2 separate regions of the Homo sapiens genome follow, and region 1 is linked to region 2. The links are contacts of gene promoters, found by promoter capture Hi-C in blood cells and fetal thymus (Javierre and others, 2016). All regions are on one chromosome and are shown on one strand. Each heading gives the region's core, a stretch centred on a gene start or on the middle of the fragment in contact. The rest is flanking DNA. Distances are from core to core; before and after follow the strand shown.

Region 1 (6,779 bases), core at 4,218-6,717, 210 kb before region 2:
TGTGGGTTTGTCATAGATGGTTCTTGTTATTTTTAGGTATATTCCTCAATACTTAGTTTATTGAGAGTTTATTGAAGAGATGTTGAACTTTATCAAAGGCCTTTTCTGTGTCTATCGAGATAATCATGTGGTTTATGTGATGAGTTACGTTTATTGATTTGCATATGTTGAACCAACCTTGAATCTCAGGGATGAAGTCAACTTGATCGTGGTGGATAAGCTTTTTGATGTGCTGCTGGATTTGGTTTGCCAGTATTTTATTGAGGATTTTTGTATTGATGTTCATCAGGGATATTTGTCCGAGGTTTTGTTTTTTTATTGTGTCTCTGCCAGGTTTTGGTATCAGGATGATGTTGGTCTCATAGAATGAGTTAGGGAGGAGTCCCTCCTTTTCAATTGTTTGAAATAGTGTCAGAAGAAATGGTACCAGCTCCTCTTTGTACCTCTGGTAGAATTTAGCTGTAAATTCGTCTGTTCCTGGGCTTTTTTTGGTTGCTAGGCTATTTGTTACTGCCTGAATTTCAGAACTCATTATTGGTCTATTCAGGGATTCAATTTCTTCCTGGTTCAGTCTTGGGCAAGTGTTTGTGCCCAGGAATTTACCCATTCCTTCTAGATTTTCTAGTTTATGTGCATAGAGGTGTTTATAGCATTCTCTGATGGTTGTTTGTATCTGTGAGGTCAGTGGTGATATCCCCCCTATCATTTGTCATTGTGTCTATTTGATTCTTCTCTTTCTTCTTTATTAGTTTAGGTAACAGTCTATTTTATTAACTTTTTTTTTTTCAAAAAAAATCAGCTCCTGGATTTGTTGGTTTTTTGAAATTTTTTTTTGTGTCTCTATCTCCTTCAGTTCCACTCCAATCTTGGTTATTTCTTGTCTTCTGCTAGCTTTGGGATTTGTTTGCTCTTGGTTGTCTAGTTTTTTTAGTTGTGATGTTAGGTTGTTGATTTGAGATCTTTCTAGCTTTTTGATGTGGGCATTTAGTGCTATAAATTTCTCTCAACACAGCTTTCGCTGTGTCCCAGAGATTCTGGTACACTGTCTCTTTGTTGTCACTAGTTTCAAGGAACTTCTTGATTTCTGCCTTAATTTCATTATTCACCCAGGAGTCATTCAGGAGCAGGTTGTTCATTTCCATGTAGTTGTATGGTTTTGAGTGAATTTCTTATTCTTGAGTTCTAATTTGATTGTGCTGTGGTTGGAGAGACTGTTTGTTATGATTTCAGTTCTTTTGCATTTGCTGAGGAGTGTTTTACTTCTGATTATATGATCAATTTTAGAGTGCCATGTGGCTATGAAAAGAATGTATATTCTGTTGTTTTTGGGTGGAGAGTTCTGTAGATAACTATCAGGTCCATTCAATCTAGAGTTTAGTTCAGGTCCTGAATATCTTTGTTAATTTTCTGTCTCAATGATCTGTCTAATATTGTCAGTGGAGTGTTAAAGTCTTTCACTATTATTGTGTGGGAGTCTAAGTCTCTTTGTAGGGCTCTAAGAACTTGCTTTATGAGTCTGGTTGTTCCCATATTAGGTGCATATGTATTTAGGATACTTAGCGCTACTTGTTGAATTGAGCCTTTTACCATTATGGAATGCCCTTGTCTATTTTATCTTTGTTGGTTTAAAGTCTGTTTTGTCAGAAACTAGGACTGCAACCCTTGCTTTTTTCTGTTTTCCGTTTGCTTGGTAAATTTTCCTCCATTCCTTTATTTTGAACCTATGTGTGTCTCTGCACTTGAGATGGGTCTCTGGAAGACAGCATCTGGGTGTTTGCTGATGCTGACGGGTCTTTGCTCTTTGGCCAGCTTGCCATTCTCTGTCTTTTAATGGGGGCATTTAGCCCATTTACATTTAAGGTTAGTGTTGTTATGTGTGAATTTGATCCTGTCATCATGACGCTAGCTGTTTATTTTGCCAACTTGCTTATGTGGTTCCTTCATAGTGTCACTGGTCTGTGTACTTCAGTGTGTTTTTGTGGTGGCTGGTAAGTTTTTTCTTTCCATATTTAGTGCTTCCTGCAGGAGCACTTGCAGGGCAGTCCTGGTTGTAACAATTCCCTCAGCATTTGCTTGTCTGAAAAGGATCTTATTTCTTCTTCACTTATGAAGCTTAATTTGGCCTGATATGAAATTCTGGGTTGGAAATTCTTTTCTTTAAGAATGTTGAGGCCGGGCGCAGTGGCTCACGCCTGTAATCCCAGCACTTTGGGAGGCCGAGGTGGGCAGATCACGAGGTCAGGAGATCGAGACCATCCTAGCTAACACAGTGAAACCCCGTCTCTACTAAAAATACAAAAAATTAGCTGGGCGCGGTGGCGGGCGCCTGTAGTCCCAGCTATTCGGGAGGCTGAGGCAGGAGAATGGCGTGAACCCGGGAGGCGGAGCTTGCAGTGAGCTGAGATCGCGCCACTGCACTCCAGCCTGGGTGACAGAGCGAGACTCAGTCTCAAAAAAACAAAAAATAAAAAAATTGTTGAATATTGGCCTCCAGTTTCTTTGGCTTCTAGGATTTCTGCTGAGAGGTCCACTGTTAGTCTGATGGGCTTCCCTTTGTAGATGACCTGGCCTTTCTCTCTGGCTGCCCTTAACATTTTTTCTTTCATTTTGACCTTGGGTAATCTGATGATTATGTGTTTTGGGGTTGATCTTCTTGTGGAGTATCTTACTGGGGTTCTCCACATTTCCTGAATTTGAATGTTGGCCTGTCTTGCTAGATTGGCGAGGTTCTCCTGGATGACATTATGAAGTATGTTTTCCAATTTGGTTCCATTCTCCCCATCTCTTTCAGGTACTCCAATCAGTTGTAGGTTTGGTCTTTTTACGTAATCCCATATTTCTTGGAGGTTTTGTTTGTTTTCATTCTTTTTTCTCTATTCTTGTCTGCCTGTCTTATTTCAGAAAGACAGTTTTCAAGCTCTGAGATTCTTTCTGCTGCTTGGTCTACTCAGCTATAGACACTAGTGATTGGATTGTGACGTTCTCACGTTGTGATTCTCAGCTCCATTAGGTGTTTTATGTTCCTCTCTAAACTGGCTATTCTGGTTATCAGCTCCTGTAATGTTTTATCATGATTCTTAGCTTCTTTGCATTGGGTTAGAACATGTTCCTTTAGCTCAGCAAAGTTCGTTATTACCCTCATTCTGAAGGCTACTTCTGTCAATTCAGCCATCTCAGTCTCAGCCCAGTTCTGTGCCCTTGCTGGAGAGGTATTACAATCATTTGGAGAAGAGGCACTCTGGCTTTTTGAGTTTTCAGCATTTTTGCATTGATTCTTTCTTATCTTTGTGGGCTTATCTACCTTCAGTCTTTGAGGTTGCTGACCTTTCAATGGGTTTTTTTGGGGATCTTTTTTGTTTATGTTGTTGTTGCTGCTTTGTTTTTCTTTTAACAGTCAGGCTCCTCTTCTGCAGGGCTGCTGTGGTTTGCTAGTGGTCCACCCCAGACCCTAATCACCTGGGTCCCTTCTGCACCTGGAGGTATCACTATCACCAGCAAAGGGTGCAAAACAGCAAAGATGGCTGCCTGCTCCAAACTGACGCTGGCCCAAACACTCCTGTAAGAGGTGTCTGGGGATCCCTTTGGGAGTTCTCACCCAGTCAGGAGGAATGGGATCAGGGACCTGCCTCAAGAAGCAGTCTGGCTGCCCCTTGGGGGACTGGGTGCACTGCACTGGGGGGATCCCCTTTTGTCCAGACTGCCCAGACTCTCCAGAGCCAGCAGGCAGGAAAGGCTAAGTTGGCTGAACCACAGAGACTGTGGCCACCCTTCCCCTGAGGGGCTCTGTCCCAGAGAGATCAGAGTTCTGTCCATAAAACCCTGGCTGGAGTTGCTGAAATTCTCACAAGGAGGTCCTGCCCAGTGAGGGGGGATGGATCGGGGTCCCACTTAAAGAAGCAGTCTGGCCACAATCTGCCACAGCAGCTGTGCTGCGCAATGGGGAGGAAGTTCTGTTCTATGCTGTTTGTTGAGACTTTATCAGAAATTGATGTTGAAGTTTGTCAAAAATTTTTCTGTATCTACTGAGATGATCATATAGTTTTCTTTTTTAGTTGGTAAATGTCATGAGTTATTGATCAATCTTTAGATATTAAACAAAGCTTACATTCCAGGGATAAACCTCACGTTGTCACAATGATGTATTCTCTTTTTAACATTTGGTGATACTCAATTTGTTAAAATTTTGTTTAAAATTTTGAATCTATGTTTATAGGACATATTAGCCTATAGCTTTCCTCCTCCCTTCTTCTTCTTCTTCTTCCTCCTCTTCCTCTTCCTCTTCTTCTTCTTCTTCTCCTTCTCCTTCTTCTCCTCCTCCTCCTCCTCCTCCTTCTCCTTCTCCTCCTCCTCTTCCTTCTCCTTCTCCTTCTTCTCCTTCTCCTTCTTCTTTTTCCTATTCAATTTTGAAATCAGGGTAATACTGCCCTCATAGAATGAGTTGGGAATTACTTCTTTATTTTCAGTTTTTTTAGAAGAGTTTGAAGTTGAACTGGTAATATTTCTAAGTCACAGCTTAGTTGGGTGCCTGTGGCTCAGGTTTTCACATAAGAATACAGTCAAGGTGTCACAACAATACAGTCAAGGTGTCACCTGTTTCAAAGTTCACTGACATGGCTGTTAGCAAGCCCCAGGTACTTGCTGGCTGCAGGCTGGAAACATCAGTTCCTTGCCAATGGGGGCCTCTTTACAGGACAGCTTATAACACAACAGCTGGCCTCCCACAGAGTGGGAGTTAGTGGGACAATGAGAGAGCTCTAAGGTGGAAGCCACAGTTTTTGTGAACTAATGCCAAAAGCGACATCTCACTAAAAAGCAAGTTAGTAAGTTCACCTCATACTCAAGGAGAGAGGACTTCATAGGAGTGTGACTACAAGGAGGTGGGAATCATCGAAGAACATCTTAGAGGCTATCTACCATAGTTGTTTACAACATTACCTTATCCGTCATATCTACAGAATCTATAGTGATGTCACCTCTCCCATTCCTTATTTGGGTAATTGTATCTTATTTCTTTTTTTTCTGATCACTTTGGCTAGAGGTTGATCAGTTTTACTTATCTTCATAGCTTTTGGCTTTACTGACTTTTTTTTCCTATTGTTTTCTGTTTCCTATTTTATTTTCTAACCTGATCTTTATTATTTCCTTTCTTCTACTTACTTTGGGTCTCATTTGCTCTTTTTTTCTGTTTGTAAGGTGGAAGATGAGGTCATGGATTTGAGACATTTCTTCTTTTCTAATATGGGGTTTAGTTCTCTAGATTTCCCCCTAATACTGCTTTAGTGGCATCCAACAAATCTAGGTTGTATTTTCATTTTAATTCTGGTCAATATTTTCTAGTTTTCCTTTTGATTTCTTTTTTGACCATGGATTAAAGTGTTCTATGTAGTTTCTAAATATTTCAGGATTTTCCAGAGATCTTTCTGTTATTGATTTCCATTTTAATTTCATTGTCAGAAAACATAGTTTATATGACTTGAATCCTTTAATTTTTTTTTTTTTTGAGACAGAGTCTTGCTCTGTTACCCAGGCTGGAGTGCAGTGGCATGATCTCAGCTCACTGCAACCTCTGCCTCCCGGGTTCTCCTGCCTCAGCCTCCCAAGTAGCTGGGACTACAGGTGCATGCCACCACACCCATCTAATTTTTGTATTTTTAGTAGAGATGGGTTTTCACCATGTTGGCCAGGCTGGTCTCAAACTGCTGACCTCTGGTGATCTATCCGCCTCAGCTTCCCAAAGTGCTGGGATCACAGGCATGAGCCACTGCACCCGGCTTGAACCCTTTTAAATTTAATGAGACTTTTTCTATGGCCCAGAATATGATATATCTTGGTAAATGTTCCATGTGTACTTCAAAAGAATATGTATTCTGCTGTTGTTGGGTGAAAGGTAATATAAATGTCAATTGGGTCAAGTTGGTTGATAGTGTTCAAGTTTTCTTTATCTTTACTGGTTTTTGAAATTTTTATAAAAATTCAATATCTGCAACTGGATTTAAACATTTTTGTATTATTTTTATTGTGTTAAAATATTTTTCTTCCTCTCCTTTCTTGCATATACACACACATGAATACTCACACACACAGTCCCAAATTTAGAGACCACAGAATTGTAACGAAATAAAGCATCTGATTGTGATGCTGCATCTTTTAACAAATGTATTGTTCAATAAAACACTTTTGAAACTGGGTTATTTTATCTTTCCTTGTCTGACCTTGTAAGCCACTTAATTGTAAAATGTGTTTTTATTCACAATACCTCTTAATATTTTATTCTTTATGCCAAGTCATGCTCCCACTGCAAACAAAACAGGCAGCAAAATATTTAATAGAGTGAAAGAAATATAAGGGTTTCTAGTATAATGCTGTTTACAGGTGTTCCTGTTTTAACAGGATATATAAATACTTGATAAACCTTGTATTCTGCAAAATTATATGTAAAAATAATAGACTGTGGGGAAAATAGGATGGGGTCATAACACTCAAAACAGTTAACTTTGTAACAAGAGTATTAATAAAATATTAATTATTCCAACTAAAACACTACCACCCAGTAAATGTCCACTAGCATTTGTACCCAGGATCAAAGTCAACTTCTACAGTCTTAAATCTCAAGACACAGGTCCTCAGGGGCATTCATCTCCAGTAGATAACATTGTCAAAAAATTAAAAATCTGCTCTGGATCTGTGCTTTCTTTAACAATCAACTGAAGTTTTTAAACATAAGGCAAATGTCTTCTCCACTTCTTCATCTACTCCTACAGCCTCATCTTGTAGGGAAG
Region 2 (6,593 bases), core at 1,562-4,061:
AGAAGCCTCAATTTATTTTCTAAATTTCATTTCTAAAAAGTTCAACAATATTTGTACAATTTTAGCGATTTGAAGTTTACTAAAATAGATTGTCACTAAGGACTGTAAATATCATGATGTGACCATTTTTGCAGACTGTCCTTAGAGTTAACAAGGAAGAAATTTAAACAGCAAGCACCATTAACTACAAGATAAAAGGCTTTTAAAAAATCCAAATTACAATTCCCATAGGGAGAGGGTTAATGTACCTCTTCATCAATTGTTAAAGGTATATTATTATTAAATGGATTAAAAACTTGCCAAATCTTACTTGGCCAGGCACCAGGAGGTTGGAATAATTAAAAGATAATAATCCTTAATAACCTGGAGCCATGAAATGTAACCTAGCTCATACCTACCCCTCACTCTTTTCATTGTAACCATTTCCATACACTGTGAGTTCACAGCCTCTTTTCTCCCCCAACGCACTCTGTTTTCACATCTCAGTACTTCTCTATTTTGCCTTCTTCCCTGTAGTTTGCCTGGGAATTATGTGAGAGCACTGGATGCTCTTCTACCTCCAGCAGGAAATTGCTGCTGGGGGAACTTCCTACCAGGGATAAGTTTTCCCTGTGTGGAAGGGGGTTGGGAGGGGTGTGTGTCTTGCAGGCCGCCTAGAATAGATTCCAGACCTTGGGCCACACAGCCTGGTAAGTCAACCAACAGCCTCCTCACACCTCATATTTGCATTCCAGTTCACTGAGTGATTTCACACACTGGCTGGCAATTCTTGAGCCTGCTGGAAAACCAACCAGGGATTCACCTCATCCATCACTGGTCTGCAACTGCCTTTTGAGGGCCACAGCAGGGGATGGAGAAATGTTTCTTAACCAGGGCTACATCAGCCAGTGAAGGGGGATACGCTCTCAAATGCAAACCCTGGAAAACCAGATGGATAAGAAGCAGACCTGGAGTTCAAGATGGGCTCCAAAGGTAAGAGAGGTAGGTTCAGATCCTGCTTCAGAGCTAACTAGTTGTATGACCCTGGGCAAGTTACCTAATCTCCTTAAACCTGTTTCTTCCTCTGTAAAATCGGGATAATAAAACCTACATTACAGGGTTTGGGAGCTTTAAAAGAAGTAACTGCAGGTAACGTACACAGCCCAGTGTGTGGTAAACAAAAATGTACTTGGTAAATGTTAAACCATTGTGCTTGGAAGTGGTGTGGGTTAATGGTCAAGAGCCTTGGGTCCGGAGCCAGACTGTTTGGGTTCAAATCCCACCCTTAGCATTTAATAGCTGAGAGCATTGGGTAACCTTCGCTGACTCAATTTATCTGTCATTAAAATGGAATTTTATTACAACATAGCAGATATTTAATAAATATTAGCTACTTTTATTTCATTGGCAGTAAAAACAGTTGATTGAGTTTCCACCTCAATCAACAACGTAGTAGTGAATTAAATGAGAATTCAGTACAATGCGTATTTTTTAAAAATTGTGAAGACCTTGTATGCATTTATGACTTTTTTGGGCAGAGTCAAGCTGCGATGCTAAGGGTGTGGTTAAACTGTAATATGAAGGAAAAAATTCAAACAGGGAGCATAAACCACCCACCAGGGAGCTATTTCTTTTGTAATGTGCATTCCATTTCTTCTCCCTCATGCTTTTTAATTCCTTCCATATTTCCTGCCATAATTATCAAATGTTTAGTTTCTGACCTCACTTTCCTGGAGACTGGAGCCCGGGGAATTTAGAATTGTTTATTTTCTGTCCATAAACCTTTGAGTTAATGGAGCGGCTTCTGAGCAAAGAGTTTGTTGGTTTGTTTGTAGTGTCTCAGGAAGGTCGTTAGAGTTGAAAAAATTGGTACAAAAAAACAAGCGCTGAAATGCTTTAACTGGAAACTCGAGCCCCCAAAGAGCAGAGCAATGGATCTTCTCTTACACTTGCGCAACGTTACAGGGAACACTTGGGAAAAGGCCGTTACATTGCCCAGATGATAACACAAAACCCGAGGACACTTCACAAAGAAGAAAATACATTTCAGAGAATCATGATCTCACTTTAAAAGAGAGAAAGGAAAATTAATTTTGCCCCAAAAGAAGAATCCCGATTCCTCTGCCCCCGCCCCCAGGAGACAGACTTGGGAGGGAAAAGTCCCCAACTACTCTCAGTCTCCTCTGAAGTGAAGGACGGAACTGAGGCGCCTTTTTGAACTCGCTGCTGCTCCAGTCGCCGCCTCGTCCCCGTCGGCCCAGCCCGTCCCCTCTCCTCCTCCCCGCTCTCCCTCCATGTTAGCCGCGGCGGGGCTCCCGCTTACGGCCCGAACTACTTTTCCTGCTTTAAAGATTTAAGTTTCGTAAGCAGCATTACTGCCCCAGCTCCACCCCAGCACACCCCAAGGACCGAAACTCCCAGCGCCACCCCGGGAGAGCATCCCCAGGACGCGCGCCCACCCGCCCAGCGCGCAGACCCAAGAGGCCCCGGGGACCGAGTTCGGACTCCTCGGCCCCTCGCCTACCTCGGCGCGGACCCAGGCGACCGCCACCAGCGCGAGCGCGAGCGCGAGCCAGCGTTTCCACATCTGCGGAAGAGAGAAGAGAGCGAGTCTGAAGGCGCCGGGCCCCGCGCTGACCTGGGAAACTTGCTCGGGTCCCGCAGGCTCGCTCCGGCCGCCCAAGCACCCCCGGCCGCCCGAAGAGTCCGGCCTCCGCGCCGTGCGCCCTGCGCTCACCGTGGTCTGGTCCAGGTCTCCTGGGGGCGCGGGGCAGGACGGCGGCAGCGAGCTGTAAGCGGAGGTGGGAGCTCCGCCGATCGCCAGCCTCGGAGGAAATGCGACCTCCCCTCGCCGCCCCTTAAGACCTCTCCTTCCCCGCCTGCCTGCCCCCCCAGCTCCTCCCCATTCTCCTCCCCCTTCTGCTGCAGCGGCCCCCGCGGCTCCCGCTCCCCCTCCTTCCGACCCCTGCTCCGGGGAGCCCGCGGGAGTCCTGGCGCCGCCGAACCCCTCTCTCCGCACGGTCCCTCGTCCGGCGCCCCTTCGGCCCCCTGGACGTGGAGCGGAGGCAGAGGGGGTGTCCCGTGGGTCCCTGCCACAAAGGGGTAGGGGGAAGGGAAACCCCACCCCGGGAGGGGCTGCTGGCTGGCGGCGGCCCGGGCGGGCTGCGGCGGTGGCCAGGTGGGCGGTGCCGTGGGGGGCCCGGGAAGGTCCGGGACTGGAACCTGGAGGAAAAGACGTCCCGCGGCCTAGGAAGCGGAGCCGCCCCCCATGGCTGAAGGGGGAGGCCCAGGGAGGCAGAGGAGACCCCGCATCCCGGGGTCACGGCAGCAGGGCAGCGGGGCACCGGGAAGTGGGCGCAGGGCCGGGAAGACCGGCCGGCGTGGGGAAGGCTGCTGTGGGTTCTACAGTGCATTGTCCCGGGTGAGGTGGCGGCCGCCCTGCTCTGCTGGGAAGATCCTGAGTCCAGCGTTTGCCGGCAGCCTCATCCCCTCCTTCCCTCGGGCCGGGGAGCGGTGTCCCCCTCCTCTCTTCCGCCCACTCACTCATCACCTGTGTCCCTCCTCCCATCCCTGTCATCCCAAGTAGCCTCTGTGTTCAGGATTGCCATCTTCACCACCTTCTTCCCAGCCCTTGGCCTTCGAAAGTGTGCTACCTCTTTGACAGGGTTAACTCCCTAAAATGCTCCTAATTAAGGCGCCTTTCCTGCCATAACTAGTAAGGAGAGCAGATCCACTTAGCAACTCAGATTTCACATGCCCAAGACTAAGCCTCACTTCCCCCAGCTTCAGGGCCTGCTTATCTACCTCTTTCAGGGTGGTTGCCTTCAAACCTATCTCCTTTTCTCAGAGCCGGCTTGTACCCATAGCCTGGCAGTTTAGCCGCTGAGATCTCATATGCATCCCCTCGCCTCCGTTCACATGTCCACTTTCCTAGGCCAGACCTTCATCCTCCCTCACTCAGAAATTCTGGAAACCTCCTTTCGTTGTCCTCTGACTCCAGGCTCTCCCCTGTAGTCTCCACTGCAATCCATTGTCATATTCTTTCCCTTATTTTAAACATTGTCTTCCTCGTGTTCATGTTCTTCCTCTACTCAGAAACTTCAGCGTTCTTCTACCCACATCAAATCCAAACTCTGCCTTTCTTATAAGCCCTGCATTACTGGGCCCACCCTGTCCATCTAACTTCTCTTCAACTACATCAGCATACTTCCTCCGCTCAAAGCAGGCCCATCTCCTCGTTGTCCTCTGAACTTGTCATACTCACTCTGCTGCCAAGGTTTGTTGAGTGCCCACTGTTGTGGCTTTAGGGGGCTTCAAGATAATACCCATGGTCCCCATGTAAGTTCAGAATCCACTGAGATAGCAACAGGAGTCAGACTTATGGAGAGCAAAATGTCAGCTTTGTCTCTGCTAAAGGCTGGAATGGCAGCCATGGCTTTAGATCTGCAGGGACAGCGGGCCCAGAATTGAACATGTCCACTCAGTCACAAGCAGAGCTGGAAAACCTGCCTGTGTAAAAACTAAACTGCATGGAAAAGCAGAAAATATGTGCCTCCTGGGACATGCCTGCTCCCCAAACTTGAGGGGGTAGAGTGACACATCCCCAGTTCTTTCAAACTCTCCAGTCAGACAACTTACTCCTGCTCCCTTGTTATGGTAATAAGATTAGGGAATAGATGTTCCGCACCAGATACTCTGTCTTGGTCACTGTGCAAGGATTGAAGGGAACTATTGTGGATAAAGTTCTGCCCTCGAATAACGCACAATACATTGCATCCCTTGCAGATCCACTGCACCCTCTCAGAATCTGGTATCATCTTTCCTCCCTTCCTCTTATCTACTAAAATGCTTGGGTTTGTTTGTTTGTTTTGTTTTCAGGAACCACGTCAAGTTTGCTTCCTTCATATCTTTTCTGACAACAGCTTGGCATGGTAGAAGGCACAGGAGGTTTGAGGTCAAACCAATCTGGCTTTCCATCCTATCACTGCCATTTACTAGCTGCATGGCCTGACTTGCATCAAATAATAAGCCCTCTGAACCTAGGTTTCTGCCTCTGACAAATGGCAGTGATAATGCCTTGCAGGGAGTTGTGAAATTTAAGCAGATGCATATAAAAAGTGCCTGGCAGGTAGTAGACCTCTGTATGTGATAGCCATTATTATTTCATGATCGGCTTTGCATCTAAATTGTAGTTGGTACTATACACCAGGTACTATGAAAGCCATTCAACATCTCTTATTTTATTTAATTTTCACAATAGATAGAAAGGAGGCTGGGCACGGTGGCCCATGCCTTGTAATCCCAGCACTTTGGGAGGCCAAGGCAGGCGGATCACTTGAGGCCGGGAGTTCGAGACCAGCTTAGCCAACATGATTAAACCCCGTCTCCACTAAAAATACAAAAATTAGATGGGTATGGTGGTGGGCACCTGTGGTGCCAGCTACTTGGGAGGCTGAGGCACCAGAATTGCTTGAACCCGGGAGGCAGAAGTTGCAGTGAGCCGAGATTGTGCCACTGCACTCCTGCCTGGGCAATAGAGAGAGACTCCATCTCAAAAAAATAATAACAATAAAAAATAAAAATTTAAAAAATACAGTAAATGGAAAGGTCTTTTTTATTGCTTCCGTTTTCCAAATAAAACTGAAGCTCAGGAAGATTTAGATACTTTCCCAAGTTTATACTGTTGGCTACACAGCCTTACAACTTGGGGCATTATATTGCAGACTGCTATACAATGTTTAACACTTGTTCTCATAGTTATTCTTGATTCTCCAGCTAGTTTTAAGTTGCTTAGAGCAAAAACAATGTTTTTCATATCTTTATCCTCTCTACATTTGGAACACAATTAATGGATTTGAGTATATCAAAATGAAATGAAAGATTCCTGTTCAACTGAGGGCACCATAGACAAAATGATAGAAGGAGATATAAATGTCTAAAACTGACATGTAACTCATAACACACACACATACACACACCCTGCAAATCAATCAGAAAAAGAAAACCCAATAAAAAAGGGCAATAGGTATGAATAGGCAATTCCCAAAAGGGGAACCCCAAATGGACAATAAATATAGAAAAGATACTCAACATCACTACTATTATTTAAATTGCACAACAACCATTTGAAATCAGTATTATTTTATTATCTCCAATATACAGATGAAGAAACACACACAGAGTTTAAGTAGTTTGTCCAAAGTTATACAGTAAATTATAAATGTCACTTTACACTCATCACAGTGGCAAAAATCAGACAGTTGGACAATATCAGTGTTAGCATGTGACTAGTGCAATCTTTGTGGTGTACTGTAGCAATTAAAAGCATGGGTTTATGAGACAGACTGCCTTGGTACAAAATTGCCTTGGTAGTAAATCTTAGCTTTACTACTTATTATGTAACCTTGGGCAAGTTACTTAACCCCTTGCATCTCAGTTGCCTCATCTGTAAAATCGTGATAATTGTACTGATTTCATAGAGCTATTGTGTAGATTAAATGTATCAATATGTAAAGTACTTAGAATAGTGTCTGGTACACAGTAAGCATATAAATAAGATGTATTACTACGGAAATAATTCACTAGAGAGCTCTTACAGGTACTGATGATAAAAC

What was found. Contacts are between HindIII fragments. The CHiCAGO score rates a contact against its expected background, and 5 or more counts as called.
Region 1: a fragment that was not itself captured here is called in contact with the fragment with the promoter of FSTL1 in region 2 in 1 of 17 cell types (M2 macrophages); the score reaches 5.4 in M2 macrophages.

What each region holds. Positions count from the first base shown.
Region 1 is chr3:120,235,154-120,241,932 of GRCh38, forward strand. All of the region lies in intron 3 of GPR156 (G protein-coupled receptor 156), which reads right to left. Among named protein-coding and RNA genes, the nearest start is that of GPR156, 47 kb to the right of the region's middle. The HindIII fragment of the contact is 2,739 bases long and covers 4,099-6,779 here.
Region 2 is chr3:120,448,181-120,454,773 of GRCh38, forward strand. FSTL1 (follistatin like 1) reads right to left here and starts at 2,812. Exons shown (of 11, transcript NM_007085.5): 1 at 2,717-2,812; 2 at 2,504-2,566. The coding sequence starts at 2,566. LOC124900546 (a long non-coding RNA gene) reads right to left here and starts at 2,474. Exons shown (of 2, transcript XR_007096030.1): 1 at 1-2,474. The HindIII fragment of the contact is 12,724 bases long and covers 1-6,593 here.